4 separate regions of the Homo sapiens genome follow, and regions 2, 3 and 4 are each linked to region 1. The links are contacts of gene promoters, found by promoter capture Hi-C in human tissues and cell types (Jung and others, 2019). All regions are on one chromosome and are shown on one strand. Each heading gives the region's core, a stretch centred on a gene start or on the middle of the fragment in contact. The rest is flanking DNA. Distances are from core to core; before and after follow the strand shown.

What was found. Contacts are between HindIII fragments. The study calls those that stand out against the background at their distance.
Region 2: a fragment that was not itself captured here is called in contact with the fragment with the promoter of C8orf76 in region 1 in 1 of the 25 tissues and cell types used here (mesenchymal stem cells).
Region 3: a contact is called between a fragment that was not itself captured here and the fragment with the promoter of C8orf76 in region 1, in 2 of the 25 tissues and cell types used here (IMR-90 fibroblasts and lymphoblastoid cells).
Region 4: a contact is called between a fragment that was not itself captured here and the fragment with the promoter of C8orf76 in region 1, in 2 of the 25 tissues and cell types used here (dorsolateral prefrontal cortex and spleen).

Annotation. Positions count from the first base shown.
Region 1 is chr8:123,239,485-123,243,242 of GRCh38, reverse strand. It overlaps C8orf76 (chromosome 8 open reading frame 76), which reads left to right and starts at 1,866. Exons shown (of 6, transcript NM_032847.3): 1 at 1,866-2,013. The coding sequence starts at 1,897. All of the region lies in intron 2 of ZHX1-C8orf76 (ZHX1-C8orf76 readthrough), which reads left to right. RefSeq lists a silencer at 1,960-2,079 and an enhancer at 1,580-2,080. The HindIII fragment of the contact is 18,562 bases long and covers 1-3,758 here.
Region 2 is chr8:122,742,969-122,746,726 of GRCh38, reverse strand. No RefSeq gene overlaps it. Among named protein-coding and RNA genes, the nearest start is that of ZHX2-AS1, 37 kb to the left of the region's middle. The HindIII fragment of the contact is 3,392 bases long and covers 194-3,585 here.
Region 3 is chr8:123,724,360-123,728,117 of GRCh38, reverse strand. The region is part of intron 1 of ANXA13 (annexin A13); the gene reads left to right. The region is part of intron 1 of LOC105375739 (a long non-coding RNA gene); the gene reads right to left. Among named protein-coding and RNA genes, the nearest start is that of ANXA13, 11 kb to the left of the region's middle. The HindIII fragment of the contact is 8,461 bases long and covers 1-3,758 here.
Region 4 is chr8:122,776,034-122,779,791 of GRCh38, reverse strand. ZHX2-AS1 (ZHX2 antisense RNA 2) reads left to right here. Exons shown (of 2, transcript XR_007061082.1): 2 at 1,595-1,908. Among named protein-coding and RNA genes, the nearest start is that of ZHX2-AS1, 3.7 kb to the left of the region's middle. The HindIII fragment of the contact is 3,632 bases long and covers 266-3,758 here.

The DNA.
Region 1 (3,758 bases), core at 617-3,116:
ATCTTGATGAATTCATTCATCAGTAACTAATGCCTGGAGGCTGTTCAGCTGGAGCCTCCCACCTGAGGCTGCTGGATAAATGAGCTGGTTCTAGATTTTGGCAATAATTAGCAGAGAGATGGATTCTGAAACCTGGGGGAGTGGATTAGGTGAGTTTGTGGAGGAAAAAGTTGGGTTGAAGAAAGAACGCTGAACCTGGTCAACATGAAAGAACCCCTCTCTACTGAAAATACAAAAAAGTAGCAGTGTGTGGTGGCCCGCGGGAGGCTGAGGTGGGAGGATGGCTTGAGCCAAGGAGGTTGAGGACGCAGTGAGCCGAAATTGCGCCTCTGCACCCCAGCCTGGGCGACAGAGCGAGACCCTGTCTCAGAAATAAATAAACAGATAAAATTTTAAAAAAGAAACCTGGAAGACAGATAAATGGTGGAAGAGAAACTGGTGAGAGTGAAGAGGAACAGGAAAAAAATCGGGGAAAACCTTTATGTTTATTTCCTACTGTGTAATATGGCACAATATTGTGCTGTACAGTATTGGCCAGCATTTTGTCAACAATCTTTACTTTCTAGAGTCAAGAAATATCTTAAAAGTATAAGAATTGTAGTAAATGTTAGTCTTAGAATTTTGAGATTTGGTGTTCTCCAGGTCGAATGAATGCTCCCTGATCTAGCCTCCCACGGTATATTTCTGTGTCTTTTCTTTCATAAATGCGTGAATGACTCCGGTCTTTGTTATTGGTGGTAGTGTCTCTTGTCCGGAAGCACGGAGAGTACGCATTCATTTCTGTATTTCCCAAGTTTCAGCCACATAATGACCGAAACTTAACAAGTTACTTAACCTCTCCAAACTCCAATATCTTCAAAATAGGATTTGCAAAATGGGAATCACTTTGGCTTTCATAAGGTGGTTGTTAGCCGAAAAGAAAAAATGTGCTTAACACAGTGACGGGAATGCACAGTGGTTGACAATTGGTACTTGCACCGGGCTTAGTGGCTCACGCCTATAATCCCAGCACTTTGGGAGAACGAGGTGGGCGGATCGCTTGAGATCAGGTTCGAGACCAGCCTGGGCAACGTAGGGAAACCCAGTCTCCACAAAAAATACACAAGTTAGACGGTCATGGTGGCGCGCGCCTGTAGCCCCAGCTACTTGGGGGACTGAGGCGGGATGATAGGTTGAGTCTGGGAGTTCGAGGCTGCAGTGAGCCATGATCTCACCACTGCACTCCAACCTGGGCGACAGAGCGAGACCCTGTCTCGAAATTATTTTATTTATTTTATTTTATTTTATTTTTTATTTTGAGACGAAGTTTCACTCTTGTTGCCTAGGCTGGAGTGCAATGATGCGATCTTGGCTCACCGCAACCTCCGCCTCCCGGGTTCAAGCGATTCTCCTGCCTCAGCCTACCGAGTAGCTGGGATTACAGGCGCGCGCCACTACGGCCGGCTAATTTTTGTATTTTCAGTACAGACCTGGTTACTCAATGTTGGTCAGGCTGGTCTCGAACTCCCGACCTCAAGTGATCCGCCCACCTTGGCCTCCCAAAGTGCTGGGATTACAGGCTTGAGCCACCGCGCCCGGCCTCTTATTTTAATTTTTAAAAAGGTACCTGCGAGTTTTAAACAGCTACTCTGGGGCCAGCGTGCTTTTTGATGCGTGCAGGTAAGGATCATTCTGTCCATCTCCTGACACAGAGAAGTCAAAACCTCCGTCCTGGGGTTCGGTCAGTTAGTGGGTCAGATAATCATCTCAGCTCAACCACTACTCCCAACCAGCAGCGGCCACGTCCCCGCGTCGCCCTCAAAGACTACAAGTCCCAGCGTGCCGCGCTCTGGGCCGTGGAAGCCCCGCCTTTTCCGGCGGGCCCCGCTTCCTCGTTGCCCCCGCCGCGGGCGCGAGATGGATTCCGGGTGCTGGTTGTTCGGCGGCGAGTTCGAGGACTCGGTGTTCGAGGAGAGGCCGGAGCGGCGGTCAGGACCGCCCGCGTCCTACTGCGCCAAGCTCTGCGAGCCGCAGGTGAGAAGCTGGGGCCTCTTCGCCTTATCCCGGGCCCCAGGCCTCGCCCTCCGCGGGGCCCCGGCCCCGGCCTCGGCCCCTCCGTCCGCGCGAACGCAAACCCTGGCAGGCTCCAGCGCCCGCCGCGTCCCCCGCCGTCCCTCCTCCTCCACGGGGAAGCGGCTTTCCCAGGCCCCATTCCGGGTCCATGGGCGAGAATCCCCGCGTTGTAAGCGGCTTGACTCCCACTTGGCATTTGGCCGGCCTGGCTGCTGCCGGCTGGTCTCAACGCCCCTGCCCTGCAATCTCCGGTACCTCCCGTTTGTCTTCACTGCTCTTACAGCTGGGCAGTCAGGCCTCCCAAAACGGTGACCTCCGGCAAACCCACTCTCCCCTCCCTCTTCGGCGAGCTCCCCCTGCCCGTACCAACCCCGCGCTGATGGTTAAAGTCCTTCAGTTATATCCGTTTTTCAAGGCACATCTTAAATGTCATCTCCTCTAGGAAGTCTTTTCTGATTTCGTCTTCCAGCCAAATATTTTTGTCTTTGGCCCCCTTCCCTCTATTTAGCTTCTACTTAAAGCACTTGTCAGTATTCCCACAAAGTCCTGAGACCCGGAGTGCTAAATGATCGCACCAGCATGGGTTCTTGATGCCCTTGGCAGTGCCTAACAGTTTTTATTAATAATAGTGACTCCGCGAATATTTTTGAATTAGTAGAGTATTACTTCCTATTCTTTCATGAGTGTAAATAGTTCATCAGTCAAAACTAATATTTATGGAAAATACGGAAGTGTTCCGGGCACTGTGGTGGGTTCCTTCGCATATACTGTCTCATTCGTTCCTCACAATTGTACTGACAAGATGCCAGGCACTCGATAATTACTGAATTGTGTTTTTGGTTATTTCAGTTGCATTTTCTCCTTATCACATACGATCTTTCAAAGTTACCTTCAGCCCTGGATCATGTAGACTCAAAACAGGGATTGGGCTTGGAAATCATGTGGCAGAACATTAAAAAAACTCTGGTTATGAGATAGGACTCTTGAATTCCAGTGTTGGCTTTAACCACTTGCCTTGAAGGTGTCAGCTCCTTATTTGTCCCTTCAGAAAAATAATACATGCTGGCTCACAGAGTTATCGTGGGAGTGAAATGAGATAATGTATATGAAAATACTTTGTCAGATCTGATGTGCTGTACAGGTGCATAGAATTTAATATAAATTCTAAAATGAAGTGATTTTTTTCTTTTCTTTTTTTTTTTTTTGAGGTGGAGTTTGTTGCCCATGCTGGAGTGCAGTGGCGCGATCTCGGGTCACCCCAACCTCCACCTCCCGGGTTAAAGCGATTCTCCTGCCTCAGCCTCCCAGCTAGCTGGGATTACAGACGTGTGCCACCATGCCGGCCTAATTTTGTATTTTTAGTAGAGACAGGGTTTCTCTACTGTTGTTAGCCAGGCTGGTCTCAAACTCCTAACCTCAAGTGATCTGCCCGCCTCGGCCTCCCAAATTGCTGGGATTACAGGTGTAAGCCACTGCCTTTCCCTACGTTATTTATTCAATAGTCAAGCAATCTCAGTCTCACTTTCCTTTTTATCCATAGGATTTAAATCAGTAGAAAAGCAAATAAAGTATCCTAGATGGGCATTTCCTCAGACTTCTCTCCTACAGGTTTTTGGTATTTGGTTGCATTGGAGCCTCCTTCTAGCCTTAATTTCTGTCTCCTTTGCTGAAATTCTAGTTTTTTGCCATTATGACATTTTCATAAT
Region 2 (3,758 bases), core at 640-3,139, 500 kb after region 1:
TAGACACTGCAGCAATATCATTGATGTATATATTTTAACCTGTCAATCAAGGTTTTAGGAGGGCTCATTTAGTGTCAGTGCTGGGTCTGAGGAGCAAACAACACAGACCTGGTCCTTGCCCTCGTGGAGATCACAGCCTAATGGACAAGCGGACACTGAACAATTGAACATAAACTGACCTGAAATTACAGAGGGTGACCAGCAGAATGCAGGTCAGTGCTGTTAGAGAGAGTAGCAGAGTGGGAGTCGTAGAGTGGGAGTCTGAAGTCCCAGCACATATCATGAAATCTATGAGTGGAGTTGACCTGAATATAAAAAAAAGCAAAATGAAATAAAATAGAAAACCTTAGAGCACAATGGATATAATAATGGTAAACTGTGTGTTTTGGAAACTTTAGTCTGATGACACTTTCAGACCTACATCTGTGTGTGGATTGCAACGCCTGCTGTGGATCCCGTGTAACTCAGCAACAACTTTGCAAGCCAGGGTCACAGAGCCTCCACTGGTCTGGAACAGCACCATCTGGAACGCTTAGCCTCTCTGTAGATATTCTCTGGGAAAGAGGATTTTGGAGGGGTTTGTATGGTCAATTAAGTGTATGGGAATGACACACAGCATCTCACTCACTCAAGTGCAAGGGGACTGGGAACTGGATCCTGGTGTATCTTAGTGTCTATCACACACTTAGTCACACTTTGTCACCTAGGCTCCAAAGCAGTGCTATGAGGGCCCCCATGCCTCAGAAAATCCCTCATCAAGGCAGTCTTCTCATCTTCTCTTGAAGCACTTCTCTTCTTAGGGATTAGATAAGGCTTCCAGGGCAAGATCCCATGAACCTATTCCTCTTCCTGGTCATGTGTGCAATGTGCAAACAAAACCTCACATTGTGTTTTAGCCATAAAAAGCTCTGAGCTATGGTCCTGTTGGAAAAGAGTAAAAGGATGATCGAGCTCAGGGAGAGCCCTGCTGGGGCTGGCTAACATGGATCAGTTTTATGATTTGATGCCAGCAAGCTGGGTGGCTCAGAGTTGGAGACAGTGGAATAATAAATCTCTACAGTTAGAGCTTAACAAAGCATGCCTTTTAATGTAGTTAGGAGGACACTATTAAAATGGCTCACCTTGGGAACACAGACAATAGGAGGAGAGAGACTAGGGCAAGTTTGAGGGACTGGTACAATTACATAGGCAGGGAGCCATTGACTCTACCCAATGACCTTGTTAGATGGGTAATATTATCCCCAATTAACAACTGAGGAAACTGAGGCTCAGAGAGGTTTTATGATTTGCTCCAGCTCATAAAGCTTGAGAGAGACAGCGGCAGGACCAGGACTCAAGTTTGTTAAACACTAAGAACAGTGTTGTTTTCACAGAGAGGGAAGAGCCAAGTCATATGAGAAGATTAGCATAAGCCAACAAGGCCATGTGCCCATCTAGGTAGCCATGTGGCTTGCCACATTCCCAGCCCAGCCTGCCCAATGGGAGCCTCATGCTCCCTGTCCAAAGCCTCCGGAGAATGACACTTGGGAGAATAATAATCATGTCTTCTTGCATGTGGTCCTGTGAACCAGCATGACAGGTAAAGGTCATGGCTGCAGCAAGGGATTTCCCATCTGTTGATACTCAAATTCTTCAGCCAACCACTCCAAAATTGAAATGCATATTTAATAAGCTGACTCTCTGCAACAAAGCAATTTAATTCACTGATAATTATGCAGATCCACCTCTCCCTCTCAGGGTGCCAGCTTCACTCTCGGTGTCCTCAATTTGGCATATTGCAAACCCCTACATCTGTCTCAGGCATTTACATTCCCAGAGTTATGATTATTATTTTGGAAATGTCAAGAATTCAGAGTCCTGCAAAAGTATGGCCTTTCCACTAGGGCTGGCAGATAAAATGCAGGATGCCCAATTAAATTTTAATTTCATATAAACAATGAAGAATTTTTTAGTATGTCTCGAATATTGCATAGAGCATACTTTTACTAAGCGCTTGTAGGTTAAGTATTCAAATTTTATGGGGCATCTGGTATTTTTATTTGCTGATTCTGGCAACTCTATTTTGCACGCCAAATTAAGGTTTCTAATTGGTCATAGGTTTCAGCTGCATCTTTAGCTCCAGGACAGAAGGAACCTCAAGGATGTATTCTCTCTCCTCCTGAAAGAACTGAATTTGGTTACAGTGAATTTGCTTATGCTGACTTTTTTTTTTTTTTTTTTTTTGCCCCAAGCAGCAAGGTTGATTCCATGAGATGCAGACCTTAAGCAAGAGTTGACTGGCTGGGATTGAACCTGTGACTCCAGGTGGGCCAATCAGATCTGTTTCTGAGAACTAGGATTGAAAGAGGGAGACCTTGAGCAGAGTCTTTGCAAGTGGTTGGAACTGAGGTGACAGTTTGTGAGACACCCATTATCTCTCCCACACTTCCTCCTCTTTTCACTGAGCTAGACTCACTTGATTTTTGTTAATTTGAAACCAAAAACAACTTATCTAAGAAAGGGTGCTAAGCCAAGACAGTGGTTAGTAGAAGCATGAAGGAATCTTTTCTTGGGATTGCTGTGCTCATCTCTTCCCCATGCACCCAAATCCTACCTTCTTCAAGACCAAATTCAATCTCATCTTCTTCATGAAGCCCTTGTTAATGGTCCAGCACATAATAAAACATTAACTAATTTTCTCATTACCAAGGGCTTTCTCAACTGAAATTTGAGTAAGTGGAATTCCACCAGAAGAGTAGGGCTTTATGGAAATGATGAAGGAGATATTTATTTTCGAAATGTCCATATCTCTCCCCTAAAAACTCCACAGGCAGCCAATCCTTTCATTGCCTGAGGCCCCTTCTAGGCTGCACCCTGTGTGAGGTAGAACAAAGAACACTCCACTAGGATGCAGCAGATTCTCCTTCTGGTTTGACGTCCACTCTTGCCCCTTCACTTGGCATGCACCCTTGTTCCCTACCTGCTCCGGTTCTACATTGCTTCCGAGAGGACCAACAGCCTTCTCTCCAGGCTTTCCCCACTGTAACCTCCTCCATACACTACTGCAGATAAAGTCTCTGATTAACAACACCAATATACAAAGGAATGACTGCTTCAATTTATAAAGAGCTTATACAGATTAATAAAATAAGAAAATCACTACGACCCCAGTAGTCTATGCCTTACCCTCCTATAAAGTGCGCACAGAGCTCTGCCTCTCCCCCTCCTTTTTTTTTTTTTGCACATACTGTCTCTTCTGCTTGGAATCTCCTGGTCTTGCTTCTCTCTTGTTTAATCTTTAAGATGGAGCTTAAATGTCACTTCCTCTTTGAAGTCTTCCCAGGCTCTTTTCCAATCCCTCTGTTGCAGCTGAATGAGTTTTCTCCTTCTCTGTGCTCTCCTGGCACTTTGTACATTGTTGTATTATAGTATTTATCACACCATATTGTACCTATTGTCACACTTATTTGCTTACATTTCTGCCTCCTCCCACAGGCTATGAGCCCCTCAAGGGCAAGGGCAGTGTCTTTCTTGTGTATTCAGCACCCACACAATGCCAGCCATGTAGCAGATGTCCAGATTTAAAGGCTGGTCAGGATGACAGTAAATCCTCCCACTCATCCCTGCTACCCCATGGGTTCCTGGCCAAGTTGTATATAAGGAACAGCAGTCAAATGAAGAACAAAGTACGAGCTTTCACGATGATTTGCCAGTACTATAAAACCCCCAAATGAAGGTGTTTTTGGATAAAAGCTGGATAATAGATCAGAGCCTTAGAT
Region 3 (3,758 bases), core at 393-2,892, 490 kb before region 1:
TAAGAATGAGTCAACAGAGAGATGTCACTTGGGCACGTTGCCCTGCCGGTATAGGCTGGGATGTTCACAACAATCTTGATGCAGACAAAGAAGCAGGAGGTGACAACAGGTTTCTCACTTTGAACTGATCTCAGCTCACACCTTCCTCCTAGTTACCTTATCTCAGCACTCATCTTTCAGATTTGTCATCTGGGTTTCTTTGCAAAAAAATTAAAGAATGTAAGACATCATGGTCCATTTCTATTCTTCCCTTTTAAGTTACCACAGCAATTTGCCCTTGGTGACTGGAGGCCTTGCTTTAGTCAGCACCTGTGTGCCGTTTACCACCAGAGGCTTGGCCTTCTCCACACTTTTTAAAGAGACCCGTTGACAGAATCGTTACAACCATTCAGCCAGGGTTGTGGACCCTTGGCACATTCGTCCTTGGCACTGCTGACATTTGGGACCAGGTAATTATTTGTGTGTGTGTGGGCGGGGGGAGGGGGGCTGTCTGTTCTGTGCATTACTGAAGGATGTTTAGCAGAATCCTGGCCTCTATCACTAGATATTCCAGTAATACTCCCCTACTCGTGCCAACTGAAAATGTCTCCAGACATTGCCAATTGTCTCCTGGGAGACAAAAATCGCTCCTGGTTTATTGAGAACCACCGCTTAAATGGGAAAACAAGGCTCCAGGGCAGATGTCCTCAGAATGTCTTTATGTCACTGGATCTCCACCAGAAATCACCATTCCTGCCCTTCTGGCCCAGGCATGTCCCTACACTGATTTCTTCTCTTATAACAGAGAAAAGTCAGCTTCTCCTGAAGATTGACCCTTATCCTCCTGTTGATGACAGCAGCAGCCAAGAGGCAGCAGTTTTTCTCAAAACTGTTAGCCCATGAGTAACAACTTCTTCTTTTTTAAAAATTCTTTATTTCTGTAGGTTTTGGGGGAACAGGTGGTATTTGGTTACATGAGTAAGTTCTTCAGTGGTCATTTGTGAGATTTTGGTGCACCCATCACCCGAGCAGTATACACTGAACCCTATTTGTAGTTTTTTATTCCTTACCCTCTCCCACCCTTTCCCCCAAGTCCCAAAAATCCATTGTATCATTCTTATGCCTTTCCGTCCTCATAGCTTAGCTCCCACTTATGAGTGAGAACATATGATGTTTGGTTTTCTGTTCCTGAGTTACTTCACTTAGAATAGTATTCTCCGATCCCATCCAGGTTGCTGCAAATGCCATTAATTCATTCCTTTTTATGGATGAGTAGTAGTCTATTGTATATATATACCACAGCTTCTTTATCCACTCATTGATTGATGGGCATTTGGGTTGGTTCCACACTTTTACAATCGCAAATTGTGCTGCTATTAATATGCATGTGCAAGTATCTTTTTCATATAATGACTCCTTTTCCTCTAGGTAGATACCCAGTAGTGAGATTGCTGGATCAAATAGTAGTTCTTATACCAGAGTGAGAAGGGTTTCACTGCAGAAACCCTCAGTAAAAAGGCTGCTGGGCTGCTGGATTTCCTGCCTAGATGAGCAGTGCTCCCCTGGAAAGACACAGGCTGGAACCTTCAGGAGCTGATTGGCTCACCTCTCCTCTGTTTGGGTGTAGCCCCCAAAAGGGCTACCCCACTTGGACTCCCTATACCACAGCTCAGTGCATGGCAGGATGCCCACATTGTTTACACTCCTGAGGATACCATCAGTACCTTCAGGTACAATGGTGCCCACCAGTTTAAGGCACAGCATATTGAAGGGCCTTCAAGTCAGGTCTCCTAACTCCTACCCAGCCCTGCAGTCACCTTTGATAAGTAAATATCACATCAACACGTGTAACCCAGATGGCATAGCCTAAGGAAGCTTGTCTTTCTGGAAAATGACCTAACTATACCAATCTTCATTAAAAGGTGCTGAAATGCCAACATGGAAGCAATCCCAAATGTAATAGAAAGGTCATGTTTTAATCTAAAGAACTGAACTCATTTTTCAGAACATACAGTCAACATATGCAAGCAAATCATGTTGAGCTGTGATCCAAATGGATGTTTTTCTAGTTTTAGTTTTAGTTGTTAAATGATACAAATATTTCTGCCCCTTTAGAGTGATAGCCAAACACTTAGTCATCATGTAAGTCACTGTAATACTGCATCTTGGAAAGGAGGTATCAACAGCAATGAACAACTCTGTAACATTCCAGCACCCTACTAAGGTGGGCAGAGCTCAAGTTTCCTAACACACTTTCCCAACAGCTCTCTGATCAACCCCCGCAGATTAATAAACTTCTAATGTGGGAAGAGGTTCTAGGCATGAAGGAATTGGCTTGCTTTTAGTCGGTGTGAGATCCTGGAGAATCCTAATGAAAACAGCAATAACTACATGATGAAATACCAAATATTCGTATTCAAACTGTGCTTAAATATACCCAACAGGGTATACTGCCAAATATATTTTTTTCTGTTGGGTAGTTTTATGACTTAATGAAACCAATATGTCACTAATCACCCAAGATTCATGCTTCAGATGTGAATGGCCCCTCTATTTTGTTTCAAATTGCTCATCAATCTCTACTAACCATGTCTGTGGAAATGTCACCAGGATATTTTCTGGCTCTGAATTCATGAATGTTAAAAGTACAATAATTTGCATTCATACTAACTGGCTTCAAAGTGCAAATGAGTAACCGGTTAGAGGTAAAAGAACATTGTTCTGAGAGAGATAGGAGATGGATGTTTCCATAAGGTGACCCTGAGCAGGTGACTTAACAACCAGGCTTCAGTTTCTTTATTTGTAAATGATGGGATTGGATACATTCAATGTCTCCCAAACTTCAGATTTAAGTACAACCTTCATGATTGTTGCCAAATATATGGGTTACCTCTTCTACTAATTATTCTATTAATTATTTTTAAATACGCACTTTTTAATATAAATTAATCTTAAAAGGAAATTTTATACTGATACCATAAATGGAAAATTAATGTCAGTTGACATAAATATAGATAACTAAATGAAAGCAAAAAGAATGTATTAAATTCTAACTAAATTTGATGTTGCCAGCTGAAGGGTAAGGTCCTATCCTCTGACTAAAAAAGGACCTGTTTACATGGTCCACATGGGATACAGTGGGAGTCCACAAAGTAAATAATGAGGCTTTGTGGGCCACAGAACCTCTGGTGCAAGTAGGTAACTACTCTGCCATTGTAGCGTGAAAGAAGCCATAGGCCAAATGTAAATGAATGGGTTGGCTGTGTTCCAATAAAACTTTATTTACAAAAATAAGTAATGGGCCAGATATGGTCCTCAGTCTGCAGTTTGCCAACCCCTGGATTAGACGAGTGTGAAAGATCCACTATCACTAAGCAAAGACTTAATCAGAAGAGTTGGGAGAGAATTTTAAAAGGAGTTCCTTTCCTAGCTGGAGGTCCAATGGCTTTAATGCTTTCAGTGTTCCATGTCACCCATTTGGAAAAACCTGGGTTCAATTTTCACTTTAAGATTTCATGCTAAACCTCTTCCCTTTATCTTTAGCATCTTGGATAAGGTCAAGGATTTCTTTCTTGTGTAAACCTTCAGCACATTTCTAAGTTGTCTTCCTCCTTTACCGGGATATCAACAGCGGAAGTTTCTAATTTTTCTCAGACTAACGGTTCTCAACCCTGGCTGCTTGTTAGAATTGTCTGGGGAGTTTTAGAAATATTTATACCTGATATATCCCTGTACCTCAGAGATTCTGATTTCATAGGATCAGACTGGGATCCCAAATG
Region 4 (3,758 bases), core at 832-3,331, 460 kb after region 1:
ATCCAGCTTGGGCCACATCTTTCTCAGCCTCATTTGGTACCGGCTAAGAACCTAATTTACTTGCCATCAACATCAGAATTTACCGCTGCCTGATCTCCTCCCAACCTCTGCCTCACCCAGGGTGAACCAAAATTGTAAAAAGAAAAGAAAAAAATATGGGACCCTCCCCCCATTCCCCCGCCTTGTCCCGTCCCGCCGGCCACACCAACTTCAACATTTTTACATCGCTTACCTTATTATGCCCCTTGCAGGCTATTCCACGCCCTGCCCCCCCCCCCTTTAAAATAAGTCTAGTTCTGTCTGTTTCCATGGAAATTACCCAAACCTTAACGAAGCTATTCCTATTTTGAGGCTGCACCTCCTCTGGATGATCAATCACTTAGGAGGGTTTTCTATAAGCCAAGTTTCCCTTGCTGCCACCTCACTGCCACCTGCTTCTGGCTGGGTGACAGATTGTATGTAGGGTGGAATGGGCCAGGTGGGAGGGAAGCCAGGTAACCCTCTAAACAGTCTGCTGGGTTCTCATATCTTCAGAGCACTTGGATCTCATGGACACTAGCAAGGATGAGGGGCTTCTGATGTGTTGCAGTGTTTTAAAATTGTTCAGAGTTTAGCATGGACTGAACTTGCACCATATAAAGAGAAAACAATGAGGAATAAGACAAAGGTGGCTTTTGCTTTATGTGGTATGATCCCTGTTTGCTTGAAGTATACTCATGGAGTAGACAGACCGTTATCTGACAGTATTTAGGAGCTTCAGAATCAATAATGTTGGACAAGTAAATGTTCAGCCAGGAAGTAACGTATGCCACTTTCACTTACAACTCATTGGTCAGAACTAAACACAAAGTTAACTGTAAAGATCCATGGAAGTATTGTGTGCCTGGAAATGGAGAGAATGGGAAAGATTTGCACTAATATGATAGCACTAAGGACTATCATAAATAATAATAGCAGTTCACAATTATTGATCATTTACCATGTGCTGAGCCTTTTATATGTATCATCTCATTGAATCATCACAAAAATCTATATTTTGTCTTTATTTTACCGATATAGAAACTGAGACTTAAAGAGCTTAAGTACTGTACCTTGCTCGACATCACACAGATGCTAAGTAATGGAGTTGGAATTTAAGCTTAATTTTACCTGCTTCCCAGAGAATAGACTTTTAAAACACTGTCCTCAACCACCTTTGGACTTAATTGGTCCCCTGTTGTTGGGCATTGGGTAGTTTCAATTTTATTCCAATGAACAACCTTGTGTCAGATCTTTTGAATCATCTGCGATTACTTCCTTAGGATAAATTCCTAGGTACATATTTGCTTAGTTGAAATATACACACATTTCAAGAATAAAAACCTTTTGCAAAAAGTGAAAGCTTTAGGAGGTGTGGTAGTCTTCTAAGATGGCTTTTTTCAATCCTTTCCTTCCTTTTTTGAAAAATACATCACCATTAAGAGGTGGAGTTTACTTCCCCTCCCTTGGAATCTGGACTGGTCCTGTGATTGCTTTGGATGCAATGAAAGTGATATTCTGAGACATCTAAATCCAAGTCTTAAGAGACTGGCAGTTTCTGTTTCCTTCCTTTTAGGGTCCTGCTGCCATGCTGTGAGAAGCCGAAGTTTCATGGAGAGGCCACATGGAGTGAAAACAAAGGTGATAGGGACAATAGCTCCACCTGAGATCCTGATTAATACACAGACTTTAGCCATCTTGGATGCTCCAGCCTAATCGATCTCCCACTTGACTCTAGTCTCACCTGACATTATGTAGAGGAAAACCATCCAGCTCCACCTAGTCAACCCACAGAATAATGAGATGATCATAAGACTGTAGTTGTTTAACATTATTAACTTTTGGGGTGGTTTATTACACAGTGATAGATAAATAAAATGGGAGTTATTATCCGTGTCTTTATTTGCACATATATCTGAATATTTCAGATCTACTTCCCCCTGAACTCTGCAGGGTATAGGTAGCATTGTGAAATATTGGAGGCCAGGACAAGGGGTAGAGAGGCCTCTTGGTCCATGATGCCTGAGCTGGCCCACTCTCCAAATCAAAGCTTTTCTTGATTTTAGTTGTTGCTCATGAAGGATCCCGCGCCACAGGTCCCAGATCCTAAGCAAATAAGAACTCATTTATCAAGCATAGATACTCAGTAGGTACTGGAGTTAAGTTCCTGTTTGGTGTTGCCAAAAACAGAGGTTTCCATTATTTAAGGATATACACTGTGATAGGGAGTGCAAGTGCCCACCATGTACATGGCTGCCTGGGAGGTGCTTCTTATACTTTATGTAATTTAATCTTTTAAACAACCTTCTGAATAGTATATTGTCTCCTTAATTTGTGGGAGAAAACAAGTTTATAGAAGCTTATGAATTATCCATGGGCCATACAGCTGATAAGTTAGAAGCAGGTCTTGAGCCCACATTTGATTGATTACAAATCCTGCCTGCTTCCCACTATACTTGTGACTTGCAAATTAACTCATGTGCAAACCCCCTTCACCAATTTTGTCCCAGTAGCAAAGGAACTACCTATAGTATTTTTAATTTAACATTTTATTTGGCCAGGGTCATGGCTCACACCTGCAATCCCAGCACTTTGGGAGGCTGAGGCAGGTGGATCATTTGAGGTCAGGAGTTTGAGACCAGCCTGGCCAACATGGTGAAACCCCATCTCTACTAAAAACAAAAAAAAATTAGCCAGGTGTGGTGGTGAGTGCCTGTAATCCCAGCTACTCAGGAGGCTGAGGCAGGAGAATCGCTTGAACCGGGGAGGCAGAGGTTACAGTGAGCCAAGATTGTACCACTTCCAGCCTGGTGACAAAGCTAGACTCTGTCTCAAAAAAAAAAAAAAAAAAAAAAAAAAAGAAAACATTTTATTTACATTGATTCACATTTTTAAAACTTAAATGCACTTATTTCATACTAATACTAAAGAAGCCTTTTGTCACAATAGAAACAAGAAAATCCAATATTGAATTTTCAAATGAACCAATGAAAGGTAACAGTGAAAATAACCATGGGAAAAAAAAAACAGCACTATTGAGCTAGCTAGATACTCTTATTTGCAGAAGGTAGAGATGGAGGGGAAAGGTGTTAGAAGGTTATTAGAGACAGGGTAGCACCAAACTGAGAATTTTTTCTTGAGCTAATTAAAAGGATGGGAAGAGAATTGAAAGTTGTAACTTTCTCTGAGTCAGAGCTATTTTGTGCTGTACCTGGACATCATTTAAAACCATCTCATGGCCACACATGCTACTTAAGCGGTACATGTTTCACACTGCTGACACCTGGCTGCCTGTCACAGTTCTTCATGTATGAATCTATTACAATGTTGCTCCCTCTGAGAGCATAAGAATCAGTGCCACGGGTTGAAGGGCTGAATGTTTGTGCTCCCTTGCCCCCCAATTCATATGTTGAAATCCTAATCCTCAATGTGATCATATTAGGAAGTGGGCGGGGCCTTTGGGAGGTGATTAGATCATGAAGGTGGGGCCTTCCTGATAGTGATACTGGAGTGCTGGGTAGAGAAATGTGGGTCCCTGGCCAGGGCTCCACCCCTACAGACCTAGGTGAGGACAGGCTTTTGTGAGGACTAGGCTAGGTGAGGACTCCTGCTTTTGTGTCTAAACGTTGCATTTTCCAAGACCACCCTGGCCCGCCACACCCTCATCCTGGTCCTATAAAAACCCCAGACTCCAGCAGGTAGACACAGGCAGCCAGATGAGAGGGGCAGTTGGAGAAGAT